Linked DNA regions of Homo sapiens: regions 2, 3 and 4 are each linked to region 1. Evidence: promoter capture Hi-C in human tissues and cell types (Jung and others, 2019). All regions are on one chromosome and are shown on one strand. Each heading gives the region's core, a stretch centred on a gene start or on the middle of the fragment in contact. The rest is flanking DNA. Distances are from core to core; before and after follow the strand shown.

What was found. The method cuts DNA at HindIII sites, captures the fragments that hold promoters and counts their contacts. A contact is called where the count stands out against the background at its distance.
Region 2: a fragment that was not itself captured here is called in contact with the fragment with the promoter of WDR38 in region 1 in 1 of the 25 tissues and cell types used here (mesenchymal stem cells).
Region 3: a contact is called between a fragment that was not itself captured here and the fragment with the promoter of WDR38 in region 1, in 1 of the 25 tissues and cell types used here (H1 embryonic stem cells).
Region 4: a contact is called between a fragment that was not itself captured here and the fragment with the promoter of WDR38 in region 1, in 1 of the 25 tissues and cell types used here (IMR-90 fibroblasts).

Annotation. Positions count from the first base shown.
Region 1 is chr9:124,851,846-124,855,038 of GRCh38, forward strand. It overlaps WDR38 (WD repeat domain 38), which reads left to right and starts at 1,615. Exons shown (of 9, transcript NM_001045476.3): 1 at 1,615-1,755; 2 at 2,360-2,480. The coding sequence starts at 1,687. RefSeq lists a silencer at 1,667-1,716. The HindIII fragment of the contact is 15,289 bases long and covers 1-3,193 here.
Region 2 is chr9:124,674,476-124,677,668 of GRCh38, forward strand. The region is part of intron 2 of NR6A1 (nuclear receptor subfamily 6 group A member 1); the gene reads right to left. The region is part of intron 1 of MIR181A2HG (MIR181A2 host gene); the gene reads left to right. Among named protein-coding and RNA genes, the nearest start is that of MIR181A2, 16 kb to the right of the region's middle. The HindIII fragment of the contact is 3,220 bases long and covers 1-3,103 here.
Region 3 is chr9:124,691,734-124,694,926 of GRCh38, forward strand. The region is part of intron 2 of NR6A1 (nuclear receptor subfamily 6 group A member 1); the gene reads right to left. All of the region lies in intron 1 of MIR181A2HG (MIR181A2 host gene), which reads left to right. MIR181A2 (microRNA 181a-2) reads left to right here and starts at 709; the gene lies at 709-818. It overlaps MIR181B2 (microRNA 181b-2), which reads left to right and starts at 1,977; the gene lies at 1,977-2,065. The HindIII fragment of the contact is 6,533 bases long and covers 1-3,193 here.
Region 4 is chr9:124,718,061-124,721,253 of GRCh38, forward strand. The region is part of intron 2 of NR6A1 (nuclear receptor subfamily 6 group A member 1); the gene reads right to left. LOC124902269 (a long non-coding RNA gene) reads right to left here. Exons shown (of 2, transcript XR_007061772.1): 1 at 1-3,193. Among named protein-coding and RNA genes, the nearest start is that of MIR181B2, 26 kb to the left of the region's middle. RefSeq lists an enhancer at 2,904-3,193. The HindIII fragment of the contact is 6,352 bases long and covers 1-3,193 here.

The sequences.
Region 1 (3,193 bases), core at 365-2,864:
GCTCCACCCCTTCGGCCAAGCAGTCACTGGGCCTGGTGGACAAGGTCTACCCTGAGGGTTCTGGGAGTGAAGGGCTGGGCTGGGGAAGGTGGCTCTGGGCCCTCTGGATAGAGCAGGAGCAACCAAGTGGCTAGACAATGTGCCCAGGGCCGGGGCATGGGTTGGGGGGGTGCCTGAGCAGGAGAGCCAGAGGGCCAGGGAATAGTAGCTCTGGGGAGCTGTGTCTGGGAGCCACATCTGGGTGTGGGGGGACAGCTTTATAGGCCCAGCTCAGAAGGGTCCCACAGTGACCTAGGCCCTCTGGGATCTGGGATGGAGTGGGACTGCCTCAAAGCTGTCATTGTCGCTCCCTCACCCGCCTGACTGTCTGGGACTTAAAATAGCAGGAGCACAGCGGATCTCCTGAGAAGTTTCTGGCAAAGAGGTTTAGGGGGGGAGGGTGTGAGTCGCCGCTGGGAACTCTTGAGTTTGAAGCTCCCAAAGCCCAGCTGCTCCACCCCTGCCCCCAGGGAGCCTAGAATCCATGGGCGGGGCAGGTGGGGGGTCCTCTGTTCCCTCCCTGTCCTGCTGTGGGAGTGGGGAGACTGGGTCCTGCCCCAGCTCTGCCATGGAAGCACCGGCTAGATGGCTGGGCCAAGTCCTGCCCCCTTCGGACCTCAGTTTCCCAGATGTACCAGGAGTTGCGGACCTCAACATCTGCTGAGAGGTCCCTGGAGTTCATGGCAGGTGGTCCCAGTACAGACACCCAGAGTCAGACAGCCATGGGCTGAAATCCCAGTTCCACTCCTACTGGCTGAGTGGCTCTGAGCAAGTCCTCCCAGCTCTCCGGGTGAGTTTCTTCACCTGTAAATTAACAATGAAACCAAGTCCTGCTCGTTCCAAGCTTCAGATTGCGCTATCCGGTAAGGATCCTGGCAGCTCCTGGGCAACTGCCCCCCAGCCCCAGCCTCCACCCCATCCTCAGATGGCACATTTTGTGCTGCCAGGAATGTTAACAGCAACGTGACCCCACTTTTAATGCCATGTACTTTACACACACTACCTCTGGCTTCCACGCCCTGGAGGACAGAGCTGGCTACTGTCCCCAGCGCTCTCCTGGGACATCCTTAACCTCAGTACTGGCCACTCCTGGACGGAAGGGGTATTGGCTCCTGAGGGGGCCCTCTTGGGCATCTACCGTGTGCCAGGCCCTGTGCTTGGCTCACCCCTGGAGTCCTGTGGGGCAGGGCTGATGCTCCCGGTTGTGCAGATGGGGAGACAGGCTCGTTGCTCCCCTGTATCAAAGAGGTGCAGGGACCCCTTGCAGTTCGCAGTCCGCAGGGCGCGGGGCCGGGCTCTGGGCCGCGCGGTGCGTGTGGCTGGCGCGCCCTCTAGTGGCCGCTCTGCCTGCCGTGTTGCCCCGCGCGAGAGCTGCCCTAGAGTGGACGCGCAGCCGCTGGCGCGGGAAGTCCCTTCTCCCAGCCCGCCGCGGTCCCGCCTGCTGCGGCTCCACCTCCGCCGAACTGCAAGCGGTCTGGCCTGCCTGTCAGTCCTCGTGGCTTCGCAGGGACCCCACCATGGCCGCACGCCCCGCCCCGATTACCATGGAGACCGCCTGTACACAGTTTCCTCTTTCCTCTGCCCAGTCCTGGGGTCCCGCGGCCGCCTAGGAGGGAGCCCGCCGGGGCGGGGCGGGGCCGGGTGCCCATGAACAGCGGGGTCCCGGCCACGCTGGCCGTGCGGAGAGTGAAATTCTTCGGCCAGCACGGCGGGGAGGTGAGGTCCAGCGGGCTCTGCCCAGACTCCCGGCTTTGGATGCAGAGTGGTTCCTGGTTCTGTGTAGTGGGGGTTCCAGAATGTTCTCTGGGCAGTGGCTCAGGACATTGAGTCCAGAGTAGACTTTGCTAACCCAAGAAGGATCGAAGTAGGTTCTCAGCTCCAGTGCCGGGCCCCAGCTCCAGAGCAGCTCTAGGTTCTAAGCTCTGCCTGTAAAAAGAGCCCCGGGCTCTGGGCTCTGCCTCGAGAGGGGCACAAAGCTCCCTGCTGACTCTGGTGTTTTCTGGGGCCCTGGCTCTAAAGTGAACTCAGAACTTAGAGTAGATTCTGGACTCTCCGTTGTCAGCTGCGGCTCTGGAATGGGCTCTTAGCTCTGGGGTTCCAGGCTCTGGTTCCAGAGAAGGCTCTTGCCTCCAACTGCAGGCTCTGGCTTTACGGGACTCGAGAGAGGGCCCAGTGGGTCCCGGGTTCTGGGCTCTGGTGGTGGAGTGAGGCTTGAAGTCAAGCTCCAACCCCAGGCTCTTGGGGGGCAGTGTTTAGGGGTCAGAGATGAGCGGACAGGGGTTTCTTCCCCAGAATGGGACCGCTTTTGTGCTGTTTCTAGGTCAACTCTTCTGCCTTCTCCCCTGATGGCCAGATGCTGCTCACAGGCTCAGAAGATGGCTGCGTGTATGGCTGGGAGACCCGGAGTGGGCAGCTGCTGTGGAGGCTGGGTGGCCACACAGGTGGGGCTCCCACACCTGGCCGGGAAGACCGAGGCACAAGGGTCTGGCATGCTGCAGAGCTGACTGCAGTGACCTCCGATGAGCTGGGCACGGGTGCAAGGCAGGGCTGGGCAGGTTGGGAGATGGGACGAGATATCTGGGTGCTGGGGCTTAGACTCTAACAGGCCTGGACTCAGCCTTCTTTAAAAACACACACACACACACACATACATACAAAAACAACTGTAATGTAACACAGTAATACTTACTGTTGCATCCTTTTTTGTGTGTGACAGAGTCGCTCTCTGTCACCCAGGCTGGACAACCTCGGCTCACTGCAACCCCCGCCTCCTGGGTTCAAGCAATTCTCTGCCTCAGCCTCTCGAGTAGCTGGAATTATAGACACCTGCTACCACACCCAGCTAATTTTTTTGTATCTTTAGTAGAGACGGGGTTTCACCATCTTGGCCAGGCTGGTCTTGAACTCCTGACCTCGTGATCCACCCACCTCGGCCTCCCAAAGTGCTGGGATTAAAGGCGTGAGCCACTGCACCGGCTTTGTTGTGTCCATTTTTAAGTGTACAGTTCAGAGAATCCAGTACCTTCACATTGTCGTGACACCAATCTCCAGAGCTCTTCCTCTTGCAGAACTGAACCTCTGTCCCCACTAAACAAGTCCCCAATCTCCCTCCTCCCAGCCCCTGACAACCACTGTTTTTCTTTTTGTCTCGATG
Region 2 (3,193 bases), core at 244-2,743, 180 kb before region 1:
GAAAAATAATAAGTATCTATCTTACTGGGTTGTTATGGGGATAAGACAAGCCCTCTTTTAAGTGCTTTACATATAAAGTCCTAAAAATAAAACCTGGAACATAAGTGCTATATAAATATTAACTATTATTATCTTAATAACAGAGGTACACATGCTTTGAGGCTGCTGCACATCAAAGAAATGAATTTGGACATAAGCAACTTAATATTTTTCTTGTATTTAAGAGAGGCCCAATGGAAATATTCATATACCCATCTTCAAAAATGGGAGGAAAAAAGGCTGAAGGAATAGCAAATTACAACACAGGAACTATATAACTACTAAGTAAATGTGACCTCATCCATCCAGAAACAGGTATGAAGGAAATGTATTTTCTAGCTCCGCCTTAACCATGTAATCACTCAGATAAAGGAGTCCTACATTCCAGAGAGATAGAGGAAAATGATTTTTCTTGCTCTTACCTTACAACAAACTGATAACCAACACAGCTAACCTTTGTGCGTTCTCACATAATTTTTAAGTGAAGAAAACATCTCTTAGGACAAAATAATCAATTCTGGAAGCTTTCTTAGAAATGCCTTCCTGCCTTATACTAGTCTTTTCTTCCCATACTCCACAAACTTCATCCCTGGGCAAGTCAGAAGAGGTATCTAAAGACGCAAAAATGCAAGCAAGTAAACATTCTTTAGAACTGAAAGGAAATCCTATGCTTGTTCTTACTTAGAAAGTTATGGAGTTAATCCTGTGGACTGGCTTATGTTGCTGACTTACAAAGCAAACAAAATACTAAATTGTATAAGCAACAAATAAAATCAGTGAATTGTAATTTATCTGTCTAAGAGTCTGTGCCTCCTACCAGACTGTAACTTCTCGAAAAAATACTTTATTCATCACCAGCATCTAGCACATTGCCTGGCACACACAGAAGGTGTTCAATAAGTGTTGACTGAATACAGTCAGAGAGCACCTCCTCCTTGTACAAGGTACTGTTAGGTGGCAGACAGCCAATAATGGTTCACTTAGGTTGATGTCAAAGATTTCTGTTTGAAATTTAAATAAAGCCAGGTCTGGCTAAAGAGCTGCAGCTGTAGTTGTACCTGCTCTCAACCCAGATTTATTCCCAATAGCAAGGCTACCCTCTTCTGCATGCCTGCTGATATTTCTCTCAAATGATGAGAAGCCACTTCCCATGTGGCCCTAGTGTGTAATTCTTTCTGCTCAACAAAGGAGGCAGTCTAGAATCTTTGGTCATAAAAATATGATGGTTAGCAACAGGAAGCAACTGCTGGGCAAGCCTGGTACACTTCCAAATGAAATCTTTCCATCTAGAATTCTCAATTGAAGGTGCCAAACTCAATCCAGAACATCTGGATTTGCTCCTCTGGCTTCAAGCGTTCTCCAAGAGAGGCTAGGAAAAAGTACGCTCTTGCCGGTACGTGTAGGTGTAATTGTATACTCAAATATTGTACTTTGGATAAGAGTCCAAGACTTGGCAAATGGATGGAATGTAGCACATGGAACTGCCTGAATAGATACCCACGCTAAGAGAAGGGTTTTCTTGCAAAATATAAACAGGCAAGGTGTGAATTGCCCCTCTGTGTCACAAGTTAGAAGAATTCACCCAGGAGAATAAGTTCTTAGGAATCAGTGGGGGAATAATGCTCAGAAGCATGTGACAGGCAAAACAGCACCATTCCCTAGGAAAACGGCAAATTTATCAAACAATAACTCTTTACTTCTCCTACCCCAATAAGATAAATATATGTGATTATAATTTGATCCATACAGAAAAAAATATTGAGCTGCAAACTCTGGCAAACAGACAGTGCTGAAATTAAACATTATGAGCTTTGGCAGCTGCACTATGTACTCTCAGATTCTTACATCATTACTCTGGTAAGGGCCCCGTACCAAGCTGGCATAGTTCTGATGTGGTCTGGAGGGAGACTTTCTTGCCTTTTATTTAAAAAAAAAAATGACCTACATATAGCCTCTTTTCATGCCACAGGGAAATAAATATTTTCCTTTCCTCCAGATTTTGTTTTAAATGACAAAGCCATACTGCCAAGTTATTAAGAAAGTGTTAGAAATTATTATGAGATTTTTAAAGGCCACTTAGTACAAGCTCTAAAAAGACTTCTAAAACAGTAGACTTCAAAAACAGGATCTCTCCTAAAGTAGTGATAATCCATTTGTGGCAATAAAGAATCAGTTTATAGAGTGATGATTACTTTCTTGTTTATATTCTGACATTGGAAGTTTAAGTATCCAGATCCTCAGTAACCTCAAATGCAAAATGAAATAGTAATGTCACCGTTTGGGACAGTTCTTCTCACAATATCAGATATATGGCAAGTCCTCAGTAAGTACTAGACAAACTTATGAACGATAGAACCTTTAAAATTCGTGACTAGAGCAATCATATACTTAACAGAGCTAAGTGGTTACCTTTACTTCACTCATATTCAAGACTGAAAAGAATTTACACATAAGCTAGTTTCAAGATCAAAACTGCGTTTGTCCCTTTCAACAACTGATACCACACAAACAAGACTTCATTCTCTATTTCCCTCCAGTGGCATCCAAGAAAAACATAAAAATTCCAAATCTCAAAAATAACAGGTTAAAGAAGAAAAAAAAAGGCCTTAGTGCTCATAAACTAGATATATAATTTGACATGTTTAGAGTGATAGGATTATGTTTCCTATCATGAAATATTTCAAATTTTCATATATGGTCAAAATAGTATAGTAACTACCAAGCTTTACTTCCAAATTATTATTACTATTTCCTTTCTTCTGGAGACAGAGTCTCACTTTGTCACGCAGGTTGGAGTGTAGTGGCTTGATCTCAGCTCACTGCAGCCTCAACCTCTCATGTTCAAGTGATCCTCCTGCCTCAGCCCCACAAGTAGCTGGGACTACAGGTGGGCACCACCATACTAGCTAATTTTTGTATTTTTTTGTAGAGACGGGGTTTCATCATGTTGCCCAGGCTAGTCTCAAACTCCTGAGCTCAAGCCATCTATCTGCTTGCTTCAGCCTCCCAAAGTGCTAGGATTACAAGCATGAGCCACTATGCCCAGCCTTATTTTACCTTTTGAGATATAATTTACATATGGTAAGGTAAACAAATCTTAAGTCTGATAAAGTTTTCTCATATGTATTATATATGTTAACTACTATCCAGATCA
Region 3 (3,193 bases), core at 445-2,944, 160 kb before region 1:
TGTGGACTATCACTAACACCTCTGTGGTAACTTAGTAATGCAGGATCTCAGCAAAGGAGATCATCAATCATGGAGGTCGAGGTTTTTCATCTTCCCCTATGACCTCACCTATAGACCTACCTGCTATTATTATAGGCAAACAAGTAGAAGAAATTTACATGTTTGACTTTGGCTCTGCAGTGATGGGTCTACTCCTAGATATCAACAGTAAGTTCTGTAGTAGACAACAGAAGCAGTATGATGAGTGAGCACTGGAAACATGAAGTCCAGTATTCAAATTCTGGCTTATAACCTTGGCTCCTGGCAATGTAACTTTAGGCAAATCACTTCAAGTTTTTTCATCAGGAAAATGTGGGTTGTTGAGAATTTAATGAGATAAAATATACAAATCCTAGTATATAGCAGATCCCCAATATATGTTAATCTCTTACCCTTGTTAACAATTAAAATACTACTGCAAAATCAGGTATTTTACATTTTTAGAATCACAAAATAATACCATTCAAAGACATTTTCTCAGACATTCATTTGAGTCTGCTTGTACAAATTACTGCACAGTCTATCCCACAGTTCATTAGTTCTCTGCTGCACACAAATTGATTTTATAATTTAAATACTCTCGACTTGAAACCCAGAGAGGAATGTAAGAGCATCCATCAGCGGTGGTCTCACTGCTCACTGGTTCTTGGGATGTGGATGGGAGAATGAAGAAGGGCTATCAGGCCAGCCTTCAGAGGACTCCAAGGAACATTCAACGCTGTCGGTGAGTTTGGGATTTGAAAAAACCACTGACCGTTGACTGTACCTTGGGGTCCTTACAGACGACACTACATTTCCTGAAGCAAAAGAGCAAGCTGTACCTTCACATGTCACATGAGTTCACCAGAAATGGTCCTGCAATCCCCCAAATGTGGTCCAGTGAATTTTATTCCTACTGCTCACTGTTCCTTGCTTTCTGTTGTGTGTTTTATTATTATTTGTTTGTTTTTACAAAAAAAGTGTTTCATTTCAACAAGGTAAGGAGCAGTCCATGATGATATCTAATGTACCTACATGTCTCCTAGATATGCACCATTCTGGTGAGAAACAGGACGTAGCAAGTAAAAATTTATTAAAAATACGTATTTTGTTTTGGAATAAAATCCAGTTAAATAATTACTCCCATTTCTCCCACATCCTCTCAAAATTTTTAATTAGGGGCAAGGGGAGGATTTAATAAGCAAAAATAGCACAAAATTATCCAATTGTGACAGTTCTTATCACATTTCACTTTGAATTATAGTTAATATGGTTAATTTTTGATATCCCAGTTAGAGCATGAGCTATTGCCTTACTAGTGCCCACATATCCCCACATATGCTTATTTAAATGTTTGCTAAATTCAAGCAAAAACTTAGCCCTGGAGTCAGTCAGATCTGGGATGAATCTTGGCTCAAGCCCTTAACTAGTTATTTGACCCCCTAAGCAAGTGTCTCAGTTTTCTCACATATAAAACAGAGGCTAAGAGTACCTATCATGGAGTTTTGAGACTCAATGAGATAATATATAAGGTGCTTTGTACCATTACTAGCCCACAGCAAATGCTCAATATATGTAAGCTGTTATTATTAAACTCCAACATAATCTGCTAATTTACCTCAAAAAAGCACTCATACTTCTCAGTTCAAAACAAAGAGGAAAAGCAGGTCCCTCAGCTGTGGTTTACAGGTACTAATATGCAAGCACTGCCTGTGTGGCGCAGTGCTACCTGTGAGGTTCTCCAAGCACTCCTTCCTTCTCTGAACCACAGCTTCCTCATCTGCAATAACCTCCCAGCTCCAATGTCAATGTTATGGACACCTGTGTGGGCCCTCAATCATGCAGATGGCTGGTTACTAAGGGAGAAGCCAGACACACAGACTTCAAAGAACTGAGATGGAAAAGAAGAGCCAGGAGTCAGCCAGGGAGGGCAAAGGCAACCCCACCAACTGAAAACACTGATGGCTGCACTCAACATTCATTGCTGTCGGTGGGTTTGAGTCTGAATCAACTCACTGATCAATGAATGCAAACTGCGGACCAAACAACCCAAAGGAAGCAAAAGCATGTGCAGAGAGTCGCCTGAGTGCAGCAGCTACTGCTGTGAGTGGGAGCTGCTACTATTTCCAAAACACTAGCTAAAGCTTTTCTTGTTCTCCTTGGTTCTAACATGGAGTAAGTTCTCTAAATTCCTAGTACTTTTCTCCTTTTTCAATAGTCTAGATTTAAGGAAATGATATTTTATAGGAAGAATTAAATACATATCTGGATATCACATCACATTTTAAAAATCAGTACATTCAGAATTTCTAAACAGAATCATATGCTTATTATTTAGAAATTCAAATACAAAAATATACAAAGTAAAAATTGAAAATCCCTTCAATCATCATCTGCAATCCATTTCCTCGGAGGAAAACATGTATAATTATAATAAACTTATTAAGATAATAAATATCATAACTAGAATTTATTTTATATCCTTGAAGACCTTTATCCATACATACACAGATAAATAGCTGTAATTTTGCATGTTTTGGGGGGAGAGTGGCTTAGACAAAAATAAGCTCATTTTTACCTATTGTTCTATAATCTATTTTGTTATTCAGCTATATATCATAGACTTCCACAACAGTCTTTTATGTACTCGTCATTCTTTTAAATGGCTATATAGTATGACTTAATATGAATGTTCTGGTTATTATTCAGATGTACATCAATATTCTCTTTTGACAAAAACTATGAGGCTCATTCATTCTAACCTTTGCAAACCATGTCCCTCAAACAGGAAAAACACCTAAGTGAGATAGAAGATGTACATTTTTCTTAACAAAAAATTTAAATGTAGTATCAACTCTCTAAATCCTGTAACATGAGATAAGCCACTAAATCCCATGTTAAAGAAAGAAAAACAAGGCCCTTGGTCATGAATAATTTATCATACACTTAAGTCTAAGAAGAAGCAGATTCTCATAGCAAAAGTCAAATAAGACAGTAAGAGAAGAGTCTTGTCAAATTAGCCTTGACAATTAAGCAAGCCTTAATTTGACAAGGCTTTCCTGTCAAATTAGGAAGGAGAAGTGATGGGGTAATGAGACAAGAACCAGAAAGAGAAATCAAAGCCAAAAGAAAAATCTAAAGAAAACTATGAGAGTTCAGAGAAAATATCAGGTTC
Region 4 (3,193 bases), core at 470-2,969, 130 kb before region 1:
TTAACAAGAATTACTACTGTTTCAAAGATGAACAAACTGAGCTTCACACGTTGCCTATGCTACTCAGCAAGAAAGCAGGAAGGCCAGGATGCTAACTTTCACTCATGTTTTTTCCACTGTACCATGCACCCATGCATTTCATTAGGGTCGCTTTCAGCAGGTATCCCTGCAACTGTCAGGATAGCCCAATTTATATAAGAAGCTCCCTCCATTATCAATAGTGCTGGCTCAAGCCTCAAGCCTGACACTGAAAAGGAGGCAAATTCTGATGGCTTTACTAGTGAATGGAAGCAGGGTTGCAAGTAGAAGCCTGAAAATGCTGTAGAAGTCTTTTACTTTATTCTCAGACTTCAAAGATGGTTCCTGCTACTTGAGGACTCTGATTCCCCCTTCCTTAGAACAATTTCAAGATAACAGAATTCTGAATGTAAAATCTGTGCTTTAAGTGGAAGCTAGAACCTATTGGCTCAATTTGGCAGAATAGCCATGGAAATCTGGCAGCTAAAATGAGAGAGAATTTTTTAAATGCATGTCTTTTTTCTTAATAATGTGATGTTCTTAAAAACAGAAAACTCAGAGATAATGAAAGATACCCTGTAATCTCATTTTCCCAAAAACACCACTATTAAAATTGGATCACCTTCCAGACTAAAAATTTGCCTTCTCCTTAAGTCTACAGCATCCTACTGCATGAATAACCACAATCCATTTATCGAGTCCCCTATTAAACTTAAATTGTTACCTTTTTTTTTTTTTTTTTTTTTTTTTTTTAAAGACAGGGTCTCGTTCTGCTGCCCAGGCTGGAGTACAGTGGCGCGATCTTGGCTCACTGCAGCCTCCACCTCCTGGGCTCAAGCGATCCTCCCACCTCAGCATCCCCAGTAGCTGGGATGACAGGCATGCACCAGCACGCCTGGTTATCCAATTTTTTTTACTATTATAAATGCTAAAAGAAGCATCTGTAAACATACATTTTTCATAACTGTCAAGTATTTAGGATAAATTCCTAGACGTATGAATTGTTCAATCTAAGTTTTCTTTTGTGGCGGGGAGGGTGGAGACAGGGTCTCACTCTGTTGCCCAGGCTGGAGTGCAGTGGTGCGATCACAACTCACTGTAGCCTCGACCTCCCAGGACCAAGTGATCCTCCCAAGTAGCTGGGACTACAGACATGTGCCGCCACACCCAGCTAATTTTTGTATATTTTGTAGAGATGAGGTTTTGCCATGTTGCCCAGGCTGGTCTCAAACACCTGAGCTCAAGGGATCCACAAAGTGCTGGGATGACAGGAGTGAGCTACCTCTCACCTGGCCTGTAATTTTAAATTTTATATTTTTAAATTTTAAACTGCCAAGTCTGAAAAATTAACCTGCACATTATCAGTTTTAATAGGTATCAGATTACATTTTTAAGAGTTCCCATTTTCCCACACTCTCATCATCCCTAAAAATTATTTAATGTAGGAGCTGAAAACTCAAATGCCTACAGAAGACTAGCAGGAAACGTAAATGGGTAAAGGAGGCCACCAAGGTTCTGTGAAAACCTAAGAGTATACGCTCATTTAAAGAAGGCAGCAGGCTGAGCACAGTGGCTCACACCTGTAATCTCAGCACTCTGGGAAGCCGAGGTGCGCGGATTGCTTGAGTCTAGGAGTTGGAAACCAGCCTGAGCAACCTGGTGAAACCCCACCTCTACAAAAAAACACAAAGATTAGCCCACCGCGGTAATGCGCGCCTATAGTCCCAGCCACTCGGGAGACTGAGGTGAGAAGAACTGCTTGAGCCCAGGAGGTCGAGGCTGCAGTGAGCCATGATCGCACCATTGCACTCCAGCCTGGGTGACAAAAGACCGTGTCCCCAATCCATATAAAGAAGGCAGCCACTACTCTGTTCCAGCCAAGAGATGCCATATAAAAATCTGAGCTCAATGTTAGATATTACAATTTATCAAGAAAGCCAGAAATCCAAAGTTTTTTGAAACTCTTGAACGTTTTTGGGTTTTTTTGAAATGCAGTTTTGCTCTTGTCACCCAGGCTAGAGTGCAATGACGCAATCTCAGCTCACTGCGGCCTCCACCTCCAGGGTTCAAGCAATTCTCCTGCCTCCATCAGCCTCCCAAGTAGCTGGGATTACAAGCATGCGCCACCACGTCCAGGTAATTTTGTATTTTTAGTGGAGATGGGGTTTCACCATGTTGGCCAGGCTGGTCTCGAACTCCTGACCTCAGGTGATCCACCCACCTCAGCCTCCCAAAGTGCTAGGATTACAGGCGCGAGCCACCACGCCCGGCCATCTTGAACATTTTAAATGTTGACAACTAACATGATTTTATTTAAACATCCTGGAAGTCAAACAAAATACATCTATAGGGCAGACTACACTTAGGACATGGAATTTTGTACTAACAGATGAAAAAGATCTTTAACACTGTATTTTCACTTTGAATCTTATTTTGCAGTTTTGATTTTCTTATGCTTACCAACAAAGCACATTCAATTTTGGTTCACAATGACTGTCGGCTCTCTTCAAAGAGAGAGGCTTATCTTTTCTTTCAGATCATATCTATGACAAATACTGGACCAAAATAAAACAAAAACAAAGTAGCTTCAGGTAAAGAGGCAAAGAGTGGTCCCGGTTGACCAAAGAGTACCCAGAAAGGGCCTCAGTTAGAACTGAGTTATTATAGCCTCAGCATGCTAAGAATATGTGAGATATTTAGAAAAAAAAAGTTAATTTGTAAAACTATGTACAACTTTGAAGACAGTGACTTTAATCTAGGGTATCCCCCCACTACTGATACGTTTGCCTAACACAGAAGGTTTTCTCTTTGGCAAGAGTTCAAAAAAGGAAGAGAAGAATTCCCATGTATTCCCTTGTTATCAAGCACTGAATTTAAGCAACCCCTTTCAGCTTTTTTTTAATAAAATAAAACAAATGTTTATTAAAAGTCTTTGTCTCATCTGAAAATGTTACTGCAATATTGCTCCCATGGAAAGAACAACTGCAGAACCTAACTAGCCTCAGAATTTCTTCTCATTCCTTCTTAGTCATTCATTAAAATCTCCAGACTTAGATATTCAAGCAATCCCTTCACCCACCAGAGATAGTGGCAGACATCCAAGACTATCCAAGGACCCAACAACCGCCTTTGAATGCAACTATCTTTTCATCAACTGTAAACAAGTGCTAAACTC